Linked DNA regions of Homo sapiens: all the other regions are linked to region 4. Evidence: promoter capture Hi-C in 16 types of primary human blood cells and fetal thymus (Javierre and others, 2016). All regions are on one chromosome and are shown on one strand. The core of a region is centred on a gene start or on the middle of the fragment in contact, and the rest is flanking DNA. Distances in the headings are between cores, read along the strand shown. Region 1 overlaps SLC45A2 (solute carrier family 45 member 2). Region 2 overlaps SLC45A2 (solute carrier family 45 member 2). Region 3 holds the start of NPR3 (natriuretic peptide receptor 3). Region 4 holds the start of TARS1-DT (TARS1 divergent transcript).

Evidence for each region. Contacts are between HindIII fragments. The CHiCAGO score rates a contact against its expected background, and 5 or more counts as called.
Region 1: a fragment that was not itself captured here is called in contact with the fragment with the promoter of TARS1-DT in region 4 in 3 of 17 cell types (naive CD4 T cells, total CD4 T cells and endothelial precursors); the score reaches 6.5 in naive CD4 T cells.
Region 2: a fragment that was not itself captured here is called in contact with the fragment with the promoter of TARS1-DT in region 4 in 3 of 17 cell types (fetal thymus, activated CD4 T cells and naive CD4 T cells); the score reaches 6.8 in fetal thymus.
Region 3: a fragment that was not itself captured here is called in contact with the fragment with the promoter of TARS1-DT in region 4 in 1 of 17 cell types (megakaryocytes); the score reaches 5.7 in megakaryocytes.

The regions. Positions count from the first base shown.
Region 1 is chr5:33,956,461-33,959,422 of GRCh38, reverse strand. The region is part of intron 3 of SLC45A2 (solute carrier family 45 member 2); the gene reads left to right. Among named protein-coding and RNA genes, the nearest start is that of RXFP3, 22 kb to the right of the region's middle. The HindIII fragment of the contact is 2,547 bases long and covers 296-2,842 here.
Region 2 is chr5:33,975,957-33,978,656 of GRCh38, reverse strand. The region is part of intron 2 of SLC45A2 (solute carrier family 45 member 2); the gene reads left to right. Among named protein-coding and RNA genes, the nearest start is that of SLC45A2, 7.4 kb to the left of the region's middle. RefSeq lists an enhancer at 1-661. The HindIII fragment of the contact is 922 bases long and covers 858-1,779 here.
Region 3 is chr5:32,710,586-32,713,285 of GRCh38, reverse strand. It overlaps NPR3 (natriuretic peptide receptor 3), which reads right to left and starts at 1,965. Exons shown (of 8, transcript NM_001204375.2): 1 at 741-1,965. The coding sequence starts at 1,509. RefSeq lists a silencer at 709-1,003 and an enhancer at 879-1,604. The HindIII fragment of the contact is 2,810 bases long and covers 46-2,700 here.
Region 4 is chr5:33,439,191-33,442,117 of GRCh38, reverse strand. TARS1-DT (TARS1 divergent transcript) reads left to right here and starts at 1,484. Exons shown (of 3, transcript XR_001742630.2): 1 at 1,484-1,913. TARS1 (threonyl-tRNA synthetase 1) reads right to left here and starts at 1,153. Exons shown (of 19, transcript NM_152295.5): 1 at 975-1,153. The coding sequence starts at 1,031. RefSeq lists enhancers at 45-631, 646-705, 966-1,155, 1,256-1,565, 1,220-1,807. The HindIII fragment of the contact is 5,282 bases long and covers 1-2,715 here.

The DNA.
Region 1 (2,962 bases), core at 320-2,819, 520 kb before region 4:
TTTGACTCTCCTTCACCAAGAAGCCAGAACTCTAAGATTACTAGTTGGACTGGAGCCCTCTGTGCATTTATGCAGGACAGCCAAAGAATCACGGAATATCTATATGATAACATTCATGCGGTCATTAAAAATGTATGTTTCCGAAGGTTTACTAAAAATATATCAGGTAAAATATACATTACATGCACAAAACCATCTTTTTTTGGGAGAAAACAAAGCTGCATAACATAGAGGAAAAAATGGAAAGGAAATATACAAAAAATGAAAAGTCTGGATGATAGGCTCACAGGAAGCTTTAATTTTCTATTTTTAAATCCTGCAATACATCCAAAATTTCTATAATAGATAAAAAAAGGGAAAAAGTAATCAAATAATGTGAAAGTGAAAATTAAAAAATAATGTGGTGATTTGGGGAACAAAACAAGGTGCGGTTTTACTAAATAAAAGTATATACGTGATAATAGATAACACCCTGATAGATTATCTACCTCTTTGATGTCCCCTTCGATAGACTGGGACTCCCCCTCCAAGAGTCGCATAGGACAGGGGTCGTCCCATCCACTCAGAGGCTGCTGTGAGGATCACATGAAATCAACTGAGTGGAAGCCTTTTGAAAGTCATGGAACTCCCACACGAGTACAAAAATAAATACAACAGATACAACGAACTTTCTAGTAGGGGCCACATGAAAAATGTTGTAGACTCTGAATGATCTTGTTATTTGGTTTAAAAAACAAATTGAGACCAGTGCAGTGGCTCATTCCTGTAATCCCAGCAACTCATGAGGCCAAGGTGGGAGGATCCATTGAACCCAAGTGTTTGATGCTGCAGTGAGCTGTGATCATGCCGCTGCACACTTGTCAAAGCAACAGAGAGAGACCCCACCTCTAAAAACATAAATAAATAAGCAAATAAAATAAGACAAAAAGTTAAAGTAAGAATATAGCACAGAGTAATGCATCTTACTCTCAAAGCCATGGATTTGCACTTCTCTTCCAAATGTGTGCCCTGGGAGGTCTCCAGTTAAGCAAAGGAAGTCTGCACTTCCCCAGGGTCAGGGCCAAGGCTTCAGGGCTGTCATTGCTTGCCAAAGACATTGCTTTCCAAAATAAGGGTGGCTGTGTAATTTAAGAACAAATTTTTCTTTTTTAATGGCAAGAGGGCTGAATTATTTCAGAAGTTTAAACCAGATCTCATAAAATCTATCTCCAATTCCTCCATGTCGTCAGTTGCTCCCTTTAACATTTAAATAGTCTCCTTTTGAGGGTATGTTTGTGAAGTTTTCTTTCTCCCTGATGACTCTGTACCTTTTTCGCTTGTAAATTCATCACTACCCAGTCTCCAGCTGACAGTGGTGCAAAATAAATGCAGTAAAACAACTCCCAAGGTTTCAGAATCATTGAAAGGTTTTTACCAAGGGAATTGATGAGTCAGGAATAATATCCCAGCTGGGTTTTTATTCTGAGTTAAAATATACAAAGGGGCTTTGAATATTTACACTCTCAGCTTTTACAGAAATACTATGCACATTTTGAAAGCTCATATTTATTTTTAGAAGAAAGGAGAAATTAGGCTAACAATGAAAGCAGGCTGAAAATTATGTATAAGTCAGAAGCATATATTAATATTTAGAATGAGGCTGAGTACTTGCTGACCAGATTCGCTTTCTCAGTTTTGCATTTTTGGAAGGAGAGGAAGGAAAGTGATGACAAACCATTTAGTTGGAGGCATGAAAACCAGGCTGTTGTTTCTTGGGCTATTGTTAGCTGCTTCTTTCTGTGGTTGAGGAAAAAGTAGTAATTCTGCACTTCATTTTGGTTATAATCATTTATTTTTACAGGTACCATATTGAACTTGCAGAAAAACAGTTATTTTCCTTCAATCCAGGGAGATGTCTATAGTGTTTAACACTGATTATCAGAAAATGAGTATAGTTATGGTCAGTGGGCTAGATACTGCAAGACTGATGAATTTTAAAAAATCAACTTACACAACAAAATTAAAATGGGCGAATATAATTTTCCACAGCAAAGAAGAAAAAAGCATGATTATATAAGGTTAAGAAGTATAAAAAATATGCTGTTACAGTTAAAATAGAAAATCTCAGTAGACTGTCTTATAAACTAGCCAGTACTCAATGTCGTGATTCAGAATAAATAAAAATATGACAAGAAAGACCAATTACCAAATTGTGTCTGATGTTTATGGTCTCAGTGTCTTCAGGGAAGCTAATCAATTAATATTCCCAAGGTTTCTTTCTTCTCTTATATGACAAGATGCTAAAAGCTATTATCATTTTTTGTATTTCAAAACAGTTGTATCAATAGTTTAAAGTTTCTCATTCTCTCAATGTTTCTGAAACCAGAAAAACTATAGCTTCTAGTTTTAACCTAATTTAAATCTAAATTAAGGAATCGGGGCCTATATATTCATTTTTTACATATATGTGTGTGGGATGGGCCTTCCTAAAGTTAATGGAAAAATAGAATTAAAAGATAAAAATTAAAAAGAATAAACTTTATTTCTTAATGTAAGCTCCATTGAGTTCATTGCTTACTTTTGTAAGCAATGATACCAGCCGTTTAGCCCATCCCTAAAGAACTGGGGGTCCTGGAGATTTAGCTATGTCAATGCAGCCTTTTTTACAATATTAACTGAAAAACCATGGGTGCCCTTTATAGATTTTTTAAGATTAGGAAACAGAAGTCAGAAGGAGCTAAATCAGGACTCTGGGATTGATGCCTAAAGATATTCCATCAAAATTATCACAACATTGCCCTTGTTTGATGATAGGAATGAGCAGAAGCATTGTTATGGTGGACAAAGACTTCCTGGTGAAGCTTTTGTGTGTTTTTCTGCTAAAGCTTTGGCTAACTTTCTCAAAACACTCTCATAGTAAGTAGATATTATCAATCTTTGGCCTTCCAGAAAGTCAACAAGCAAAATGCCTGAGCATCCCCAA
Region 2 (2,700 bases), core at 69-2,568, 540 kb before region 4:
GGGCTCACAGGTTATAGGTAGAGTCAAAACTTTTTCAATTGGCAATTGATTCAGAGTTAAGCTTTGCCTAAAGAGTTGAAGTCAACAGAAAGAAATGCTTGAGTTAAGGAGGATTGTGGAAGCCAAGGTTCTTGTTATGTAGATGAGGCCTCCAGATAGCAAGTTTCAGAGAGAATAGATGGTAAATGTCTCTTTTTGAGTCTTAGAAGGTGTCAGGCTCTCTAAAAAAAAACTGGTAAGGGAAGGAGGTTCTCTACAGGAAAAAAAATCCCCCACAAAAGATGGCTTTGCAGGGCCATTCCAAGATATATCAAAGAAATATATTTTGGGTAAAATGCATTAATTTTCTTCAGGGTCTGTTATCTGTCATGTGATGGTATACCAGAGTCAGGTTGGAATTTGGCATCCTATTGCTATGAAGAGTGTTTTGTATGGCAGTCTTAAGATCTCTATTTTAATGTTAATGCTGGTTAATTCTGTCTAAACTCCAAAGGGAAGGGTTATAACAGGGTATGTCCAACACCTCCCTTCTCATCATGGCCTGAACTAGGTTTTCAGGTTTCTTTGGGATCCTCTTGGCCAAGAAGGGTGTCCACTCAGTCAGTTGGAGGCCTTAGAATTTTATTATTGGTTTGCAGTACTCATCCTTTAACTGTTCTCCAGTCTCCAGTTTCTTCCCACTCCAATTGAGCCAACTGATAGCTTCCAGATTCATATTTTTAAAAGCCAGCCGTGATCAGGACACTTTCCTGCTTGATGAGCTTCAGTGGCTCCCTATGTGCCTCATGGGTAAATAATATTTTCCTAGACAGAGGTTCAAAGCTGCCACAATCTGTTCCCATCCTACTCTCCAAGCTTTACTTCCCATTACTCCTTCCACATTCTCTGTGCTCTGAATAATTTTTCATCATGTTTCCAGGAGCAGCGGGCAGGTCTGTTTTATTCCCTGCATCCCTCACTCCTCTACCACTGCCTTGCATATTGTAGGTGTTCAAAATAAATACCAATGGGACAAATGAAGGAGCCAGCCCTTCCTTCTTCAGGTTCTGGGTCTTTGCTCACATCGAAAGTTTCTTTCTCCTTTTCTGCCTGTGGAGATCAAAGCTGCTTGGAAATGCTCACTCATTTTCTAGGAACAAGGGCCCTCATTCTCTTCGAAACTGCAGGTATACTTAATTTCTAACTTGGTCGGGGACTAGATCCACAAAATAATCAAAGCACAAAAGTTTATTGAGTAGATGAACATGAAGGTGCCAGTGAGGTAGATAACTCCATCAGGAAGAGACCATTGAGGCTGCAGTTGATCACACATACATCCTGAATTTTCATCTCCTCCTGGGGCCTTTATGGTCTGTTTGGGCTGCCATGCCAGAATGTCACTGACTAGGTAAACAGAAATTCATTTTCCCACAGTTCTGGAGTATGGAAATCCAAGATCAAGAAGCTGTCAGGGTTGGTTTCTGGTGAGGCCTCTCTTCCTGGCTGGCAGACAGCCGCCTTCTTGCTGTGTCCTCATGTGGCCTTTCTTCTGTGCACCTGCACCCTCACTGTCTCTTCCTTTTCTTACATGAACACCAGTCCTATTGGATTTGAATTAGGGCTCCACACTTACAGTCTCATTTAACCTTAATTACCTCTTTAAAGGCCTTGTCGACAAATACAGTCCCATTGAGGGTTAGAGTATCAACACAGGAATCGGGAGTACAGGGACACAATTGAGCCCATAATTGAGCCCTTTCACTTTTACCCTTGTTGCCGCTGAGTCCAGCTCCTGAAGCTTGGATGGGATGTGGATGGAGCACACATGCTTTTCTCTCTCTTCCCTCCTCCCCAATCCCTTTTGTTTTCCTTCTTTGCATAATGAAGATATTCTAGAATTTTCAAATAAACAAGAAAAACACAAAAGGTCTTTTTGTGTTCATAAGAGCAGTTATGGAACTGGAGTATTGTGTTCCAATCTAGCTGTTCTCAGGTTCTCATGCAGAATGCTCCCTTTAAGATCTTCTAAAATCCCTCCACCCCTGTCCTGCAGGGAGGGGAAAAAAATCTCCCCCACCCCCCTCACCCCTCCAACCTCCACCCCATCCTTGGAGGGAGGGGCAGTTGGTGGCAAAGGGAAAGTTGGCTCACACCCTGAGGAAAACATTTTACCACCTCCCAGCTTAGATAAACAGTCCAGCCCTAAAGGGCTACTTTCTTATGTCTCTTTCTTGGCCTTTGCCATTTTCCACCTTCCATGTTAGTTATTTGAATACATTTCTAATCATACTCATTACACCATAAACTTCTTGAGGGAAGGGGGCTGTCCAGAGGTAACATACGTGTGAATGAGTGAGAGGATAAGGGATGTGTGAATGAGAGACAATGTTATATGCACTTTAATGATCTTTTTGGGGGACTGGTACTGCCACCCAAAAATCCAGGTTGATTTCCTTCAGCCCTTCCCCGTGTTCTCGGCCCCTTCCCTATCAGCACTTGGTATATGCTTAGGGAATAGAGTGATTAGGAAGGGGTTGTTTGCAAGTCACTAACGCCCACAAAACAGTGGCTTCAAGGCAGATGTTTATTTTTCTTATGTAACAAAAAGTCTGGGAGTACGTGTCTGCTGGCTTTCAGTGAGCTGCTAGATGTCAGAGCCAACAATTTAATGTTTCCTTGGCAGCTTTAAGGATGTATTGCCTCCTGGATGCAAGACAATTG
Region 3 (2,700 bases), core at 201-2,700, 730 kb after region 4:
AGAAGGTTCAGCGCTCGTTTCTTCAAAAGGCACTCCCGCAAAGCTTAGCTCTGGGCGCATTAGAAACTGCGTTGCAGAACACTCTGGGAGAAGTGAGTGTCGCCAGAATTCAGACACACAGGGGCATTTTTGGTGGAAACCACAGAAGCTCGTTTATAAGGGGCTGGAAGGGAAATGAAAGGAATGAGAAGAGTGAGTCAACAAGCCTTTAAAAGAAACCTGGGGTCTGTGGAAACAACAGTCAGAGAAACCCCAAGAGCGGGCGAGCTAAGTGGCGACGCCTCGCTGCGAGGCGTCCGCGGACGCTTCCGCACTAAGTGGGGGCGCACGCTGGCAAAGGACTGGGGAACAAGTTCTTTCCGCCTCGGATGCTTCAGACCCTGGATGGAGCCAGGCACTGGGAGTGCGCCCCCTAATCACCAGCCCGGCGCTGGCAAAGTGGAAACTGGGAAGAAAAAACATCGAAGTGTTTGACAGCACCTGTTGGACCTGGGCACGCAGGAGCTACAGACGCCCTCTCCTCCAACCCCTTCACCTCCCTGGGACCCTCTACGTACACCGCGATGGGCGGTCGTCAAAGGTTGTCGCAGCCACACGGCGCATACCTGAACGAGTGCCCGCGCGCACCCGACCTCAGCGCCGCAGTGGGGAGTGGGGTCTGCAGAGTGGACGAGTGTGCAGGGAGAGCCGCGGAGAGCGGTTGGGTTAGGGCCCGGGGCCCGGGACGCGCCCCTGCTCACCTCTCTCACTGGCCTGGATATTGCGCACGATGTCTTCCAGATCCAAGTCTTTGGTCTCGTCGAAACTGTAGATGGACGTGTGCAAACCCTCCTCCTGGAAGACCTCGTGGACCCCCTCGAGGGTGAAGTAGCAGTTCCGCTCCAGCTTGTCGTCGCTGTAGACCAGTGCAGCGCGGCTCCAGTGGTGGTGGCGGAACAGGGCGAGCATCATCTCGCCCATCTTGGCGTAGGCGGGCGCCACGCGCGTGAGGTGCGAGTACTCAGAGTCCTTGTGCTGGAAGCCAGCGGCCAGCGCCCCAGCCGACAGCATGGGCAGGTCCCAGTGCGATGCAAGCCGGGCCACTGGCGCTGCTGCATACTCGCACACTGGCCCCAGGATAAGGTCTGGCTTGGCGCCCCGCGCCGCCGCCACGCGGTCCACCAAGCTGAAGAGCGCACGGTTCCCACAGTCTGAATCCTCGTAAGCCACCTGGAAGCGAGTGCCCGGCGGCAGAAGCCGCCTCCCAGTCCCGTTGCCCTCCACGCTGCGCAGAGCATACTCGATGGCCGGCCGCACCCGGGTGAGTGAAAACAAGTACGAGTCATCCTGGGGCAGTAACACCAGCACCTCGATCTTCTGTGGCGGCAGCGCCTCTCTCTCCTGGCGTCCGCCGCCTATGCCCGCGCCACCGCCGCCGCCGCCAACGCCACCGCCACCGGTGCCGCCGGCCAGCAACGCCCAGCCGAGTAGTACGCACGGGGAGAAAGTGAGCACCAGCAGAGACGGCATCGTGCCGCAAGAAAGAGCTTGCCCTCGCCGCCGCCGACTCGCCCTCTGCCCCCCACCCACCCTTCCTCTTTCCTCCCCACTCTTCTCTCCAAGGTCCCTGCGCCCCCTTGGGCGCTTTAACAAAATAGAATACCCCCTTCACTAATGCGCCAAAAGATAGAGAGGAAGCGTCCTTCTCTGCAATGTCACTAGTTTTTCTTAAAAAAAAAAGAAAAAGAAAAAGAAAAAGTTCACCGGGTGTAAACCTGTGCGTCTGTAATATACATATATATATACTTGTATATATTCGCCCTCCGTTTATACATATACTATTTTGCTTAGAGGTGGCTTCTTATTTGGGCGTTGCTAAGGTTGCTTTTGAAAGCGTTTTTGTAGAAGAAAAAAAAAGTTAGACTTGTCCAAGTGTTTGTAATTGACGGTGCATCTCCCTCGCATTTGATCTCATTGATTCGCGCCGGTTCCTGGATCCATAGCCCGCGTTTAAATAGCGTGGCAGCGGCTGAGCGTGTTACCACACATGGCGCGCCGAGGCCGGGCTTGTGTTTCCAGCGGGTGGGGTGGGTGGGGGTGGGGAGATGTGGGGGCTGGGCTGGGGGAGTCTCTCATTAACATTCTTACATCAGGGCTCCTCCCTGCACCCCTTCACTACCCATCGCGCCCCTGTCCCTAACCACCACTCCCCGCAGGCCCTCTGCCTTTTCCTTAAAGCTGAAATCGCCCACGTCTGCACCGGCAAGAGCCCCCACCACGCCGCGTGCCTGTGCGATCACCGCCTCTCCCTTTCCACGCTCTCCAGCTCCTGGCTTCAAAAAAGGAAACGTGCTTTAAAGTAGAGAAATGCGCGCGCGCACGCACACATACACACACACACACACACACACATATACACACACACACCGTGCAAAAAAAAAAAAAAACCAGGACTGGGGGAAAGGGATGGTTCTAGAAATTGTGGTTTCGGTGCAAAAATCCTTAGGTGCCGCTTGCTCTCACCTTTCTCGTTCTGGCCACATTCCCTCCTGAAGCACCGACGCGGGGCGAGCACCTGACCTTCCTGGTCCCTCGGCGCAAGGTCAGGGAACAAGGACCAAGGTCCCAGTGCAGATGGCTCCATCGCGGACCTGGTGTGCCCGGCTGGCCCGGGCGTCACCTACACCCCGCCTTCCTCAGCCCCGCGCCAGCCCCCTCCCC
Region 4 (2,927 bases), core at 235-2,734:
GACGTCACCACTTCTCACTTGGACTATTACAACAGCCTTCTGCATGTGGCCTAACCTTCTATCCCAATGCCAGCGTGACTTTTACAAATACAATCTTCCTGCTTAAGATCCTTCATGTATAGAATACAAGTTTCAAACATCCTTGTTGCCTAAGATCCTTCTGATTACTGTTCCTTTAACCCTTCTGGCATATCTCTTGCAAACAACCCGAAAGACAATTCACCTGCGTGCCCCTTTTCACTGCCTTCCCTACCTTTACGTGGGAAGCCCCGTCCTGCCTGTTTACCTGGTGAAATCATTCTTCCAAACTAAATTCTAAAGTGCCTTCCTAAACTTCCTCTTCTGTAATACCACAAGGTTGATCACAAAGCACTAGGGCTGTTTTCCTGTCTCTTACACATCAGCCTGTGAGGCCCTCAAAGTCGGGGAACTGGGCCCTATTCATCTTCCCACATGCACCGCCCAGATCAGTGCCGGGCAAAATGTATACTTAACCACCCAAACTTGGACAAGCTGGGTCAGATCTCGGGCACTCGGTTTTCCTTTCCTTAAAATGGAGCTCTTTACCCCCGCAGGATCTTAGGAGATTGATTAAATAAGGCTCTGCAATGTGTTTCCCGCTTACAGTAAGCCATAAACGCAAGTTTGGAAGCCTCAAGCCTAAGATTCTGATTCTGTCTCCGCGTCTAACTACTGTAGATGTGAGGCTCTGAACAAGTCGCTCACTCAAGGTCTGTTTCCTCATCTGTAAAGAGAATGGACCCACAGATGAACTGCAAGGCCCCACCCTAATTTATGAATGGATGGTTCCCAAAGGGGGTTCCGACTTTCCAGGAGTCCCACCATCCCCCACTTCTCCGACCCACGCGGTCCCGGCCGCTTCCTGCTTCCTGCCCCCCGCTCCCGCCGCGAGCGTAGCGTCTGCACCCACTAGAGTCCCAGGCTGGTCTCTGGGTCCCACCAAGTTTGCTCACCGGCTTCTCCTCGCCTCCCATCTTCCCTGAAGGACTGCTGGCCTTCTCCTCAAACATTGGCGAACGACGAAGCGATGAGAGAACCCGAAAGCGACGGCCTAGAGGAGAGGAGCCAAGAGGCGGGTGGGAGGTGGGCTAGCGCCCGGGACTTGGCCTCGGCTGGACCAGCTGATGCAATCGAAAGGCGCCCTAACCCCGCCCCCAACTTGCGGCGGAACGAGCAGCCAATGGATAACGGGGGAAGGCGGGCCCTCCCTCCTCTAAGCCAGTGGAAAATCTTTTCGGGTGACAGAGCCCTTCTAGGAAATCAGGTCGCGGAGGGTGAGGAGGAGCAACTGCAGAAGCTACATGCCTACTCTCCGCTGACCTTGGTCTGGACGCTTTCCAGAGTCAAGTCCCCAATGCGCGTGCGCCTTTCCTCCCTTCTGACTTTATGTGGAACAATCATGGACCTTCCCGGACACCGTAGATAATAAGTAGGTCTTGGTCTAAACTTCCGGGAAGTTTTCGGCGACCTGGATACCATCTTCGACACGGGGACAAATCCCGGGATGGAGTCCAGGGTTTCCCGCGGCTTCGGCGCTTCCTGACCTGGCGTGACTGCCGACTTGTCGGCACCACCCAGGCCTCAGGCTCCCTGTCTGTAGTGGTGAATCGACCTTCCTCATGGCAGTCCAGGCTTCCCAAGCCCCATGTCCTGTTGATCCGGGACAAACTCTTCCTTGAACGTTCTTCACTACGAGCCGCTGCTGATCTGTACTGCCTGGAGGAGCATTTCCATAGCGCCCGCAAAAATACAATAAAGCTCACCCAAGGAAATAACCATGGATTCTCACGCCTGGGTGCCAGTGTTTGGAATCGACTGGGCTTTTTTATGTTAGTAGGCAATTTAAAACAATTACTTATTTGAAATCAGAAGCGCAATAGGCATAACTTCAGGTACGTGCTCCACCACCACGTTTTGTGGATTTTTCTTTTTAAACATCAGTTCTGTTCTCTACAACTCTCCGCCTTCAGGGTTATACTTTCCAGGAACAATAGCTTCCCAATTCGGCTTTGTGCATCCATTTTTCATACAGCATCGTTGTAGTCTTCAAATACAAATATGATCACGGCAATCTGCTGAAAAATCTTTGGTGGCTTTCCCTTGCTCTTGGACAATCCCTGATTGTCCAAGTTTTCGGCTTCATCTCGTTCGCCCACCATACACTGAACTATAAACTGTAGTGGCTTTTTTTCCTCAGGTCTTCCCACAGACTAAGTACCAAGATTTTTCCACCCTACCCTCATCCGTGCTCATTCCGACACACTTTTTGCCTGTTTGACACCTCATTTATTGTCAGATTTCAAGAATCGTTTTCTTCGGGGAACCATTTCTTGACTCCCTTACTGGATGAAACAAGCCTCCCTGTTAAACAGTGTTGGAGGCGCAGAAACATACCCCCAAATAATGGCGTTTTGACATCTGAACTGAAGAAGCCTCAAGGTCCCACTCCCCTAAATCCCCACGCCATCTCTGCCAAAGCAAAGGATAAAGTTTAGACACATCACAAGGAACATAATTGTTTTTGTTGCCTCCCTGTAAGACCAAGAATGTAGTAATCACACCTGAGCAGACCCTTTCACAAGATGTTGTACAAATTAATGTGTTCCTGATACATTCATTCTCCTTTGTAATCCCTCAACAGAATTCCTCTTCTCCCTATCATAACCTGTGTCGCTGGGATTGTATCCACAAGCTTCTGAAGCCCTCTGAGGGGTGGGTAATCACGCTGTGATTCTTCCTGTGTATACACGTTAAGTAAATTTGTATGTTTTTTCTATTAATGTTCCTCATGTTAGTGATTTTCAGCCAAACCTCAGAGGGCCAAGGAGAAAGGTCCCCTTGGCGCTTACAATAGTGTCTGCTGGTAGTTTCATGTGGTTCTTGGTAGAACTTACCGGTTCAACTTG